Regions from separate parts of the Homo sapiens genome. Here regions 2 and 3 are each linked to region 1. Evidence: promoter capture Hi-C in 16 types of primary human blood cells and fetal thymus (Javierre and others, 2016). All regions are on one chromosome and are shown on one strand. Each heading gives the region's core, a stretch centred on a gene start or on the middle of the fragment in contact. The rest is flanking DNA. Distances are from core to core; before and after follow the strand shown. Region 1 holds the start of C10orf88 (chromosome 10 open reading frame 88). Region 2 overlaps DHX32 (DEAH-box helicase 32 (putative)). Region 3 overlaps BCCIP (BRCA2 and CDKN1A interacting protein).

Region 1 (4,323 bases), core at 771-3,270:
GAGGAATTTGTTTAATTCTGTAGCAGGATGAAGTAAGCTTGGTTTCGCATGATAAATAGGATTTTTCCTACTATTGAAAAAAATGGCATTCTAGGTAGAGGAAACTGGAAGGTAGGCAGGGTTCAAAGTACAAAGGACTCTGCATGCTATGCTAAGGAGTGAAGGTGTTGATTCAGTCAGGAACATTGATCACCAGAAGGAGAAGAGGGCAGTGCAAAGACTGAAATGGAAGGAATCAAAATGAAAGCTACTGACAAACTCCTGGAATTGTTCAGATAAAGCTAGTGCTTGGAAACAGAAGAAGCAGAGATAGGAAAATTTTTCTTTAAGAAAATGAAGACTTGGTGGTTTATTGGCTGTATGGAAATAAAGGAAAGGATAGACCATAGGAATCTTTTGTTTTCTGATTCCTGGACATTCAGCTTTATTTAAGGAAGTCAAAATCCAGTTTATAATATTGCTATTGCTCATGAAATTGCAGATTAGTTTCTGAAGAGCCTATTTTCCTTCGGATTGTCCACATGTATTAATGTGGATCAAAGTTAACTTACAACCACAGGAAGCAGGACATACAGGACAAAAATAATGACAAGGACAACTTAGAATGAGTCTGAAATATTAAAAAAATCTTTGCAAACGAGGACTTTACAATTCTGCTATGATAGACCTTTGGTGACATTTCTCTCTTTCAATCTTGGTGAATTCACCTACCATACGTACATTCTGGTGATTACTTATAGAAAAATACATTTGGTCATCATTTTTCTTGCTTTGACACAGGTAAACAGAATGCAAAGTTTATTCTCATTTTTAGCTAGAGGGCACAAGTCCTAGTACATAAACTCAAACGAAAACATAAGCAAAAAGATTAAAGTAATGCGCACTGAGTCATGAACCCAGAATAGACAGCTCTGAAAGAAAATTAGAGTATGGGTGAGCAAAAACGTTATTTCCTAGAGAGGATACCACCTTAAACACAACTTTGGAACTCTAGATTATAGACAAGTGGAATTTCAGAGTTTGCTTTTTTCAAAAGACAGAAAAATAATCTGCACAAGCCTCTACAGGAGGAGGATGAGGGGGCACACTATATACAGTCCCATCCCGTGGGGCATCTAGAAAGTTCCATCTGCTCCCACTGTTCTGCATCCGTAGCCTTAAGTTCCTTCAAGACTGAGTTCATATTCTACTTCAACAGAGTTCTGAGACCCCCCCTTTCCACTCGCTGTTTCCAGTGCCATGAGGAGCGATCTCATGGGGCAGCCCCTGCCTTCGGTGTCTGGGTCTTTCTTGCATTTCAAATTTCTGTCACCTAGAGCGTCCAGCCCTGGATGCCCGGGTTCCTGCGGCCTGAGGGTTGCACATGGGGTCAGGGGGCGTCAGCTGAGACAGCACCCGGCGAAGGCCAGCGTGGCTCAATGCCCATCACAGATGCCCTTCAACCCCAAAACCCCATCATCCGCTTCAGCCCCCCTCTAAAGCGAGAATATGTGTGAGGGAGGCTAGGAGAATTCGAAGTAAAAATAACCCGAATCGGCAGCGCGTCCGCCGCGCTAGCTGCCACAAATGCTGCAGATCCGACGGAATGGAAGCAGAAAAGGCCCTGGCGTCCCCTTGGGAAAGAACGAGGTCAGGAGTCGGTCTTGCACGCAGCGTAGAGCGACGAGACTACACCTACCTGATCACAGACGTTCCACACCAGCTCAGCAACGGTCGTCCACGCCGCTTGCTGTTTCCCCACAGCCAACGTCGAAAACACCCTCGTGCCGGCGCGCAGTGCACCGCGCCTGCGCATAGTCTCCAGCGAAAGAGCAAGGGTCTGCCAGTGCGCATGCTCCGCTCTCGACCTCCTCCCCGCACACTTTGAACGCCGCGCCTGAGGCCAGCTGGCACATGCGCATGCGTGTCTCTGGTGCCTGCTCTCCCCACCAAAGCAAGAAGCGGCGGGTACTTGAAGCGGAGTGAGCCGGAAGTCGCTTTGCCTGCCCATTTCCACGCTGTACCGGCGGAAATTCAAGCACTGGAAGAGAGGTTCCGGGGCTGGGCTGGCCTGACTGAAGGCGGCGGAATGGAGACGCGGACCGAGGACGGGGGCCTCACCCGCCGCCCCACGCTGGCCTCTTCTTGGGATGTTGCAGGCGGGGCCCTGACCCACAGCCTCCTCCTCACCCGGGCCGGTCTCGGCCCCGGTGACTTCGACTGGGAGGAGCTGCTGGCACCGCCTGCTCCAGGGTGCGCCGGGCCGACGGGGACGGGGTCGCTATGCTCGGCAACTGCCGCGCTTCTAGGGGAGCTGTGAGGGGAGGCGAGAGGGTCTGAGCCCGGGATCCGGGAGAGCAGTTGGTACCAGGTCTCTAGTTGGGGAGGGGAGCTGCGAGGTCGTCCGGGGTGGGCGGAGGGGGGTGGGTCCGGCCGGGAAGGGGCCGAGGCTCCTGGGCGTGAGAGGGGGAAGGTGACCCGGACTCGGAATTTCATATAACGTCCCCATCAGGCGTGATAGCCCCTCAGGGCTGCTGTCAAAGTCAGTCCGCCCCTCTACCCTCAAACAAGACACCTCCTGTCCACCAAAACAGGCTGTGTAAAAAGTCCAGCTATAGATGATCGCTGTCGACTTAATTTCGAAAAAGATACACTTTTGTCTTTCATTGTGCCCTGCACCCAGTAGGTGCCCAGTGATTTATGTAATTATCCGAGAGTCAATTGCAGGGGATTGAGTAGAATGTTGATTGAGGAAAAAATAGAGTTTGGGAAAGCCCTGATGTGTGACACCTTCATTTCCGTATGAATTCTGTGTTGAGCGCTTCTTGGATGCTTGGGAAGGTGCTTGGACCTCAAGGGCAAGTGGAAGTGAGTTAGAAGAAAGAAGCCCCGGCCGGGCACGGTGGCTCACACCTGTAATCCCAGCACTTTGGGAGGCCGAGGCGGGCGGATCACGACGTCAGGAGATCAAGACCATCCTGGCTAACACGGCGAAACCCCGTCTCTACGAAAAATACAAAAAATTAGCCGGGCGCGGTGGCGGGTGCCTGTAGTCCCAGCTGCTTGGGAGGCTGAGGCAGGAGAATGGCGTGAACCCGGAAGGCGGAGCGTGCAGTGAGCCGAGATGGAGCCACTGCATTCCAGCCTGGGCGACAGAGCCAGACTCCGTCTCAAAAAAGAAGAGTCATGTTCAGAGAACTATACTGTGTGATGTTTTCACCAATTTTCTTCTCAGTCAGGATCTGGTGATTTTGAAGAGAAACCACAACAACAAAGATGAAAACCCCTGCTTCCTTTACCTGAGGTGTGGCCCTGATGGAGGTGAAGAAATCGCTTCTATTGGCATTTTAAGTTCAGCAAGAAATATGGAAGTGTACTTAGGAGAGGAGTACTGTGGAACCAGTAGGGGCAAGAATGTTTGTACTGTCCTGGATGACAGGTGTGTGACTTGTACACGGGAAAGTGTTCTTCTGAAGTAGTGTTTTGATTTTTCTCACTTTTTGCAATAATTATTGATTCTCTGATATTGATACCATATGTTATGGGAGAGAAGATAAAAATGTGCCAGTAGGCATAGAAGTTTACAACTTTAGAGATCTTAAAAGACAGTGTAGATCAGCCTAGTTATTTTTATAAATGTTGAAATTTAGAACTAACAATCAAGGTGAATTGGTAGGAGGTCATAGCTAGTTAGTGGAAGAGTTTTATTAGAATGAAATTTTGAGAAGTGTGTCTCTTTCCTTAAACTCACAGCAGTCTGTCTTCCGAAAGTTAATTTGGTAGTCAGTCTGGAACTTTGAATACATTTTCTTCTTGGAAGCCTATTAGAAATGGTGGAGGGATCTAAGACTGTGCTACATAAACCTATTTATTAACCTGTAACGCAACTTGTGATTTTTTTTCTTACGAAGATTTTTCTCCAATCTGTCTTTAACACAAAATATGAACTGTTTTATATCCTGCATGTTGGAAACAATTGCTGTGTTTATTGAGCTTTAAAATACAGTCTGGCTACATGGTTGTACATATGTTATATAATGTAATTTTCTCATTGAGCCTAGTAAGTGGTAGATGTAATCATAGGCAGTGTGCTTCAGTTATGGAGCCCAACTCTTCATGCCTCACCAGGAAAACTGAATCTTAGGATTTCAATATTGTTCTGGAAACATTTATTTTTAAGTGTAACTATTAAAAGTGACAATATATGTAAGTAAAAAAAATTAATTCTTTTTTATTTTTAGTGAACATGAAAAGATCATTTTGTATAAAAAAAATCTAAAATTGGAGTCCTCCACACATGCTTGTAAAATAAAGGTAAGTTGTCAGTTGTAAACTAATTTGACA
Region 2 (4,323 bases), core at 617-3,116, 2.9 Mb before region 1:
AATCTTGTTTATCTGTGTTTTTTTGTGCTATAATTCTGTAGATTGTATCAACTTAAAGGAATTTTGGCCCCAGTAAAAATTTAGAGTTACTGATTTAGAGAAATGAATATAGGAAAGGCATTTTTCTTGTTAGGAAGTTTTTTGCATGAGTTAGCATAAGAATATTCTAACTTTAATGTTTCTTCTTTATAGGTATTGTACTGATGATATGCTGCAAAGAGAAATGATGTCCAATCCTTTTTTGGGTAGCTATGGGGTCATCATCTTAGATGATATTCATGAAAGAAGCATTGCAACTGATGTGTTACTTGGACTTCTTAAAGATGTTTTACTAGCAAGACCAGAACTGAAGCTCATAATTAACTCCTCACCTCACCTGATCAGCAAACTCAATTCTTATTATGGAAACGTGCCTGTCATAGAAGTGAAAAATAAACACCCTGTGGAGGTTGTGTACCTTAGTGAGGCTCAAAAGGATTCTTTTGAGTCTATTTTACGCCTTATCTTTGAAATTCACCACTCGGGTGAGAAAGGTGACATTGTAGTCTTTCTGGCCTGTGAACAAGTAAGTAAGTGATACTCTAACCTTACAGTAATAAGGTATTTCATTTGGGAAGCTTTTAATAACTAACATACAGGTTTCAGTTTGCTAATTAACTGTTTAAATATTTGGTTTCATCACACCTCATTAAATAAAACCTGTGCTGAAAGGAGAACAGGAAGTGTTTCTAAAATCACATGCAGTTCTGAAAACAAAATATGGGTGAGGAGTCTCTAGACATGATCTCCAGAGCCAACTTCCCTCCAGCAGGCTCAGGCCAGAGAGTGGCTGCCCCAAAGGCACAGCTGGCTCTATTTATGCTTGCTGTGAATTGTCTCTTGGTACAGTAGGTGCATGCCGACTCCCCTGACATTCTCCACTGCCTCCCTGTGAGCAGGTGTGTTTGTTGGAGATCAGGACTATTACCTAAGCACTCACCATAGAGTTAAGTAACACAACATTTCCCACAAGCAGTCCTGTGATAGTCAGTGGAGTATGGGCAGAAAATATAGCCCACCCGAAAAGGTCATCTCCCTGGACTGGGGCTCCATTCTTAAAAGATTAAAAAAAAAAAAAAAAAACAAACAAACAAACAAAAAAAAAAACCTTTAACTCAGATTTCTTTAAAACATCTCTTTAAAAGAATGACTGGAAATGTGCAATCAAGCATCATTTCCATTCTGTTACTGCTTTTAGACAGCCAAGGTACCATTTGGGGTTGCATTTTTTTTTTAAATTGCAGCTACACTGGCCCTATTTCTTTCCCCACTACTCTGTTGGCTGAATCTAAAAGCCTCCAGGATCTCCAGAATTAGACCTCTCTTCATGGAGACTAATTGCCTGGCCTTTTTTCCCTGTCTTCTCCCACAGAGAGGAGAAGCATGAGTTTTTAGACCATGACCCATATATGTAGTGGTTCTACTCATTAAACAGAAACCAAAAAGGAAATTATTTGATGTAGGCTGAGCCACAGCTGAACAGATAAGTGGCTCAGCTGTCTGTCAGAGCCTTTTCTTGAACATCCACATATTTCAGAAACACTTTCAGAAGTATTTATTCTATTTTATACTCAAAGCATAAAGGATGACAGCTCCTTCTGGCTTTGGGAACTTTAGTTTTCTTAAATGTATCTGTTTCTAGAACCTCAATATGACTGCATATTTATCATTTTTTGTATGTATATGATATACATTCTCTTGAATAGCAAATCTGCCTATTACAGTGATTTATTCTGTTATCATCTCATCCTGCATGATTCAAGATATTCAAGAAAGTCCTGAGGAAAATAATAAAATGATTACGGAGACATAGGATTTATGAAAACAGTTGGAGGTTCTCAGTGTAAACAGATGAAGCCTAAGGAAGGGAAGAATGGCAAATCTAATATATTTGAGAGTCAGAATTGCCAGGTGAAAAACAGGACGTAGGCCGGGCACTGTGGCTCACACCTGTAATGACAGCACTTTGGGAGGCTGAGGCGGGAGGATCACGTGAGGCCAGGAGGTTGAGACCAGCCTTGACAACATAGCAGGACCCTATCTCAACAAAAAAATTAAAAAATTAGCCAGGCATGGTGGCTCAGGCCTGTAGTCCCACCTACTCAGGAAGCTGAGGTGGGAGGATTGCTTGAACTAAGGAGTTTGAGGCTGCAGTGAGCTATGATTGCACCACTGCACTCCAGCCTGGGTGACAGAGCAAGACCCTGTCTCTAGAAAAAAAAAAAAAATGAAAAATTAAAAAAAAAAAACCAGGATATACATTTCTGCAAGAAAAAAATGCAATTAAGACTGATAGGATGGGTGTAATCCTTCAAGTCAGGGTAAGCAAAAATTCCTAAATGGATTTGGAAATGGATTTTGGATCTTGGAAAATAAAGCTCATAACAGAACTGAGGTGCAGATGGTCTTAGAGTACATGATTCTTATAAGTTTAATATAAACTATAATTAATTGTAGAGTGACTTTTGAACTGTCAACTTTAGAACATGCATCATTATCCAGGCTGGTAGTAGAAACTGTAAATGCCACAGGACTTGGAGAGGTATGTAATTTCCCCTGAAGGCAGGCTGGAAAGGCATTCCTATTAAGAAACCATCAGTCTTGCAGTCTTAAAGTGAGAGTGCCATGAAAGCTACCAGAGGATTTTGTAATTCTGAGCCTCTGTGACCCAGGCGGAGCACTGGACCCTCTAAAGGTGAGCTCCTCATTGTTCAGGGGCTCAACAGCCGACCTGCCCTGTGGGTGGGGCAGCAAGCCAGCCACTGACATTGGGCTGGCTTCAGCAGACTTTACCTGGGCACCAGGTTTCTTTCTCCTGCTTCAGCCTTGGATTCCACAGGTGTTATCTGGTTTTCCTTACCCCATCTACTGCCTAACAAGCAGAACACCATTCAGTATACTGATGGACTTTTCTTTTTTACTATTTTTGTCAGGATCCCTCATTAAGATTCTCATCTCTTATGGATTGGGATTTGTGTCTTGGAAAGATTTGTCTTGCACCGAAATCAGTGCTAACAGCTATTGATCATTTCCCCCCATGCTATTTGATGCTTTCTTGATTTCTATATAAAGCTTTAAAACCTACCGTAGCACTTAAATATCATGTGAAAACAAACTCAACCAGTCTAATACAAATGTATTAATTGTCATTTAAAATTTGTATTTATTTACTTAGAGACAGGACCTCACTATGTTGCCTAGGCTGGAGTGCAGTGGTGTGATCTTGGCTCAGTGTGACCTCGAACTCCTGGGCTCAAGCCATCTACCTCTTCAGCCTTCAAAGTAGCTGGGATTACAGGTGTGCACCAGTATGCCCAGCTAGTTTTTGTTTTTTGTTTTTTTTTTGGTAGAGACGGGGTCTAACTATGTTGCCCAGGCTGGTCTTGAACTCCTGGCCTCAAGCAGTTCTCCTGTCTTGGCCTCCCAAAGTGCTGGGATTATAGGCATGAGCCACTGCACCCAGCCCTGCCATTTTTTATATTAAGAAGTATGTTTTAAATTACAGAAATATTCTCAAACATTTTGGTGAAACGGCAGTGCATTTGCCTTAGGTGTGTCACATTTTCTCCAGCCACTTGCCTAGCACCACACCTGCTGTGAATTAATCTCTGTGATTCACAGGCTGCCCTGTGTCTTGGCACTTAATTGAGACTTAGAGCCCTGAATGTTTAGCGTGTTGTTTCCTATCACCTAGCTGTCTTTTAACCGGAAGACAAAATATGAAATAAGCAGAAAACATACATTGAGATTTACGATAATATGTAGCCAGATTACTGTACAGTAATAAACTATCACAAAGGTGTTTTTAGGTTGGAGGTTTTCCTGGGAAATGTTTTATGCAGTTGTGGATCTTCTTTCATTTTTGGTGAGCTAGATGTCTGCTAGATATCGTCCTTCAGTGGGTGTTGCTGTTTTCCGTAACTGTGCAGGTAGTTATAGGAAAGTTATGCGTATGTAAATAAACCACATACATTGAATAAGAATCAAGGAAATGAATAAACAAAATGTCTGAAGTACCAGATGCACATTTTTTAAAGCTTTTCTGCCCCAAATTCTGCAGATTATGGCCTTAAAGCCCTGTATCAGCTGTGCTTGAGGAGCCTAAACTATTTATCTATTTCTGTTTTGCTCTGCTTTTTCCCTTCTGAAGATTTTAAAAATTCTTTTTTATTGCCATTTGGAACAAAATTCAACATTAGAACCAACTTACAAGACAGCCAAAATAGCTCAGTGAGAGAGCATTAGACCGAAGAATTCACCTATGACTAAAAAGTTTTAGCAGCT
Region 3 (4,323 bases), core at 1,289-3,788, 2.9 Mb before region 1:
GTTACAACTGCAGAGCTATTGATGTGATTATCCATTTAAAGAGTGAATCCTGCCATTAGATAATAACCTCTTTCAAGGATAAAAATAACTGCTTCTCCTCCATATCCATTAGGTCTTCTAAGACACGAATCAGCTAGAGATCACATTTATTTGATGAAAGGGCAGGTGGTCTGCTTTTTCCCATTGCCCTAATAAAAGGAATGCCCCATAGGTTTAATTTCTCATTTTCTTTACATTGAGTGCCATAAAGTTACTAATATTGTCAGAAGCCTTGAAAAGTGTACACTGTATTTAGTAACAAGTATGTTGGTGACCCTATCACTCAGTGTCCGAATTTTAGTGGTGTAAAAGTCAGATAAGAGTGTCTGAAGAATGAATAGGAGGACAGGAAGTAGAAACCATGACTTAAGATTACTTTTCAAGAATTTTGGCTCTGAAGGTGATGTACTTAAGAGTGGAACATTAGACTGAATGGAGCTTTTGTTTGTTGTGTTTTTCACAACAGGCTAGGGAACAGGTGCTAGGAACAGGAAAAAGACATCAACAGTGACAGCTACACATATGTAGCACATGTCAGCTGCCAGACACTGTTTTAAGCAGTCAGCAATTCATTTTGTTTACCCATGCACTCTACAAGATCGGTGCTAGTACCATCCTCATTTTCAGAGACAGAAATGGAAACAGATTAAGGTACTGTGGCAGACTGTATCTTTCACAGATGGCCCCAATGGATCTCTCCTTGGACATGCTCTTCTGACAAAGTGACCTAGGTACTTTTCTCATGGAGTGGTGGGATCAATGTGCCCTCCCCCTAGATAGAAATTTCTATCTGTAAAGACTAAGCAAATGGTGGAAATGGCACTATATCACTTCTGCCTGCTTCTTTTGGGCAGCTTGCTCTTGGAAGCAAACCAATGTGTGACGAGGCCCACATGGAGAAGAACTAAGGCCCCTGGTCCAGAGTCCCAGCTAAGCTCCCGACAGACAGCTAGGGCTAACTTGCCAGTCATGTGAGTGAGCCATCTTGAAAGGGAATCCTCCAGCCCCTAGTCAAGCCACCCCAGCTAACATGATGGAGCAGGAGCACAGATGAGTTGTGCCCACTGAGCTCTGTCCAAACTGTAGATCCATTAGCCAAATAAATGACTACTGCTATTTTACGACACTAAGCTATGGGGTGGTTTGTTATACAAACAACAGATAACCCAAAGAACCACCAGATGATAAGCAGCAGACCCAGGGTCTAAACCAGTCCTTATTTTGTTGAGCTCTCTACAACATCTATCTGATAAAGATGACCATCCCCTCCTCCTTCAAATGTTATCTTTCTTGCTGTGTATGACATCACTGCACTATTGTTTCTTCTACTTCTCCTGTCATCCCTTTTAATCTCCTTTGCTGGCTCTGCCACTTATATTACTCATCGAAGTATTCTTGGTATTACTAAGGTGTCTGTCCCTTCCCTCCCTGCGCAATCTCAATCACTTCTACGACCTCAGTAACATTTACGACCAACTCCCAAGTCTCCAGGGCTCCACCTGCTACCCGGTATCTCACAGGTAACTCAAACTCAAAATGTACAAATCCAAATTCACATTCCCCCTCCTAATTTGACCTTCCTCCATGTTTGTTATCCTGTTTGCTCAAGCTAGAAACCTGGAAGTCATCCTTGACTCCTTTTCCTCTCACTTTCAGACCCAATCAGGGACTAAACCTCATCATATTTCATCTCCCAAATATTTTCTAAATGAGCCCACTTCTCTCCCTCTCCATTGCCCCCACCTGGACTACTGCATTTAATAAGCTTGGATTTCTGCAATGACTTCTGATCAGTCTCCATTCCTCCAGTAATACTGCTTCCAATTTGAGCTAAACAGAATAAAGAACTTTTTTTTTTTTTTTTTTTTTTTTTCAGATATAGGGTCTTGCTGTGTTGCCCGGCTAGAGTGCAGCGGCACAAAGCTCACCATGGCCTTCAACTTCTTGGCTCAAGAGATCCTCCTACCTCAGCCACCTGGGTAAAAAGACTACAGGCATGTGCTACTATGCCCGGCTAATTTTTTGTTATTTTTTGTAGAGACAGAGTATTGCTATATTGCCCAGGATGGTCTTGAACTCCTGGCCTCAAGCAATCCTCCCACCTTTGCTTCCCAAAGTGCTGGGATTACAAGCATGGTGAGGCCCAGCATGAACAGAATAAAGAACTCATTTAATCAGAATAAACACAATTATCCTACTTACCTTAATCACACTCCCAATATGGTTCTGTTGAATTAAGAGATCTGTTAGTTCTGCAGTGTTCACAGGAGCCTTTAGAAAAAGCTAAAAGGAGGAAAAAATTATTTTAAATTAAGATCAAAGCATGATTTCTAATAACTTCAAATCCTATATTCAAATACAAACAATGAAATTTCTGTGACTTAAGATGATGATCTAGAAAAGCAACCCCAAGAGGGAAAGAAAAGCCCAGGAGAGTCAAAGAAGCTAAAGATTAGGAAATTTCAGAAAAGAAGAAGTCAGTAGTAATATAGAAGTAATGGGGGAGGGGGAGAAAAAAGGGAGAAACGAGAGAGGATAAACTTAAGGCCAAAGAATTTGGTGAAAAAGACGGTAGAGCTATAAAGGCTAAAGAACCAAAGTCATATTATATGAGTAAAAGAATAAGGAGAAGCAGCAAGCATCAATTTTATAGCACCAAACAGCACAGTTATATGACTGTTACATAAGAATTGTGAATTAAAAAAAAAAACAAAATAACTCTAATTAGCAGATGAAAGGAAATAATTCTTCCTTCCAGGCAAGGTGGAGAGGATAGAAATGGAAATTCTAAAAAGATGAACTTGGGAGAGCCTGTATTGAATGACCTGAATTTTCTTTTTTTTTAGAGACAGAGGCTCACTCTGTTGCCCAGACTGGAGCTCAATGGCACATTCATAGCTGCAGCCTTGAGCTCTTAGACTCAAGTAATCCTCCAGCCTCAGCCTCCTGAGGAGTTAGGACTAACGGTGTGTGCTACCACAGTTGGCTAATTTTTAATTTTTTTGTAGAGACAGGTTCTCATTATGTTGCCCAGGCTGGTCTCAAACTCCTGGGCTCAAGCAATCCTCTCACCTCGGCCTTCCAAAATGCTGAGATTATAGGCATGAACCACTGCACCCGGCCCCTGATTTTTCTTAGAAGAGGAAATTTATGCATAATAAATAAAAGACAATACCTGCTGCAGTAATTTCTTAATTCCGTCATAATCATTATCTGATAGGGAATAAGCTTCAAATTCAATATTCACTTCCTGTAAATAACACACAAAATAGTTGTTACCAGAAAAACTACAAACATCTAGACTTTAAAACAGGCAAACATTGCCAAGATTGCCATCTGTGAAGAATACAAAGCACCTTCACACTATTTCTTCAGGTGACACAAAAGCCTGAGAAAACAAAACACTCAGAGTAACCTAGTTTAAATGTTGAGAAAGTCCAGTTCAAATAAACCAGACACGGCAGCCACAAAGGATAAATTATTTTCCTGATTACAAGGGTGGGCAAAAATCAAAATCACTTCAAAAGTCCCTGGAATTGCCTAGAGCTTGACTTAGCCCATGGATTTGAGGTTACACTACATTTGCTTAGCAAATATTTATTAAGTATCAATCCAGGTACCAAGCACTGTGCCAGGCACTCAAGATGAAAAGGTTAGTAAGGCAGACACAAATGATCCTGCTCTCGTGCAGCTTACGATTTAGGAAGGAATATAGGCATTAAGGAAATATTCATAGAAATAAATGTAAGTGCTATAAAACAAAGGTACACAATGTTGTAACAACTTAAAAAATAAGAAGTCAGTCAGGAAAGCCTTCCTTGAAGTGACATTTGAGCAAGAAACCGAGAAACAGCAAAGAGAGTTCCTGGTACAGGGAACAGCACAAACTAAGGCCCTAAGGCAGAAGGAAATACAATGAGTACAAGGGACTAGAAGAATGAATGTGTAGCTGGGCTCCCTGATCTCTATCTGCAAGACAACAGAATCTAGAAGATGGAACTAAAATGCCAAAAACAAAACCTAGTTGCTTTTAAACACTAACAAGATTAGTCCTTGAGGACCCTAAATCAGACCTTGATAAGTGACACAATGAACCTGGGGCTCTGATGAAATAATATATTTAAAGGCACTTCAGGTTTTAACGGTTTCAGAATTTAGGTCTTAGCTGAAGAACATCGCAGAGGAAATCAGACCTCCTTTTACCTTGCCACCCTGACTATGTATATATTTAAGTCTTCCTTAATTGTAAAATTGCAAGGCCCTGGAATTGCTTAGAGCAATTCC

What was found. The method cuts DNA at HindIII sites, captures the fragments that hold promoters and counts their contacts. A CHiCAGO score of 5 or more calls a contact.
Region 2: a contact is called between a fragment that was not itself captured here and the fragment with the promoter of C10orf88 in region 1, in 1 of 17 cell types (monocytes). The highest score is 5.8, in monocytes.
Region 3: a fragment that was not itself captured here is called in contact with the fragment with the promoter of C10orf88 in region 1 in 3 of 17 cell types (fetal thymus, non-activated CD4 T cells and monocytes); the score reaches 6.8 in fetal thymus.

Annotation. Positions count from the first base shown.
Region 1 is chr10:122,951,924-122,956,246 of GRCh38, reverse strand. It overlaps C10orf88 (chromosome 10 open reading frame 88), which reads left to right and starts at 2,020. Exons shown (of 6, transcript NM_024942.4): 1 at 2,020-2,232; 2 at 3,215-3,418; 3 at 4,221-4,293. The coding sequence starts at 2,069. LOC124902519 (a long non-coding RNA gene) reads right to left here and starts at 1,805. Exons shown (of 2, transcript XR_007062325.1): 1 at 1,679-1,805. RefSeq lists a silencer at 2,225-2,304. The HindIII fragment of the contact is 5,860 bases long and covers 40-4,323 here.
Region 2 is chr10:125,855,845-125,860,167 of GRCh38, reverse strand. DHX32 (DEAH-box helicase 32 (putative)) reads left to right here. Exons shown (of 11, transcript NM_018180.3): 3 at 193-565. Among named protein-coding and RNA genes, the nearest start is that of DHX32, 23 kb to the left of the region's middle. The HindIII fragment of the contact is 2,494 bases long and covers 620-3,113 here.
Region 3 is chr10:125,825,557-125,829,879 of GRCh38, reverse strand. It overlaps BCCIP (BRCA2 and CDKN1A interacting protein), which reads right to left. Exons shown (of 7, transcript NM_078468.3): 2 at 3,215-3,289; 3 at 2,242-2,322. Among named protein-coding and RNA genes, the nearest start is that of BCCIP, 4.2 kb to the right of the region's middle. The HindIII fragment of the contact is 1,463 bases long and covers 1,807-3,269 here.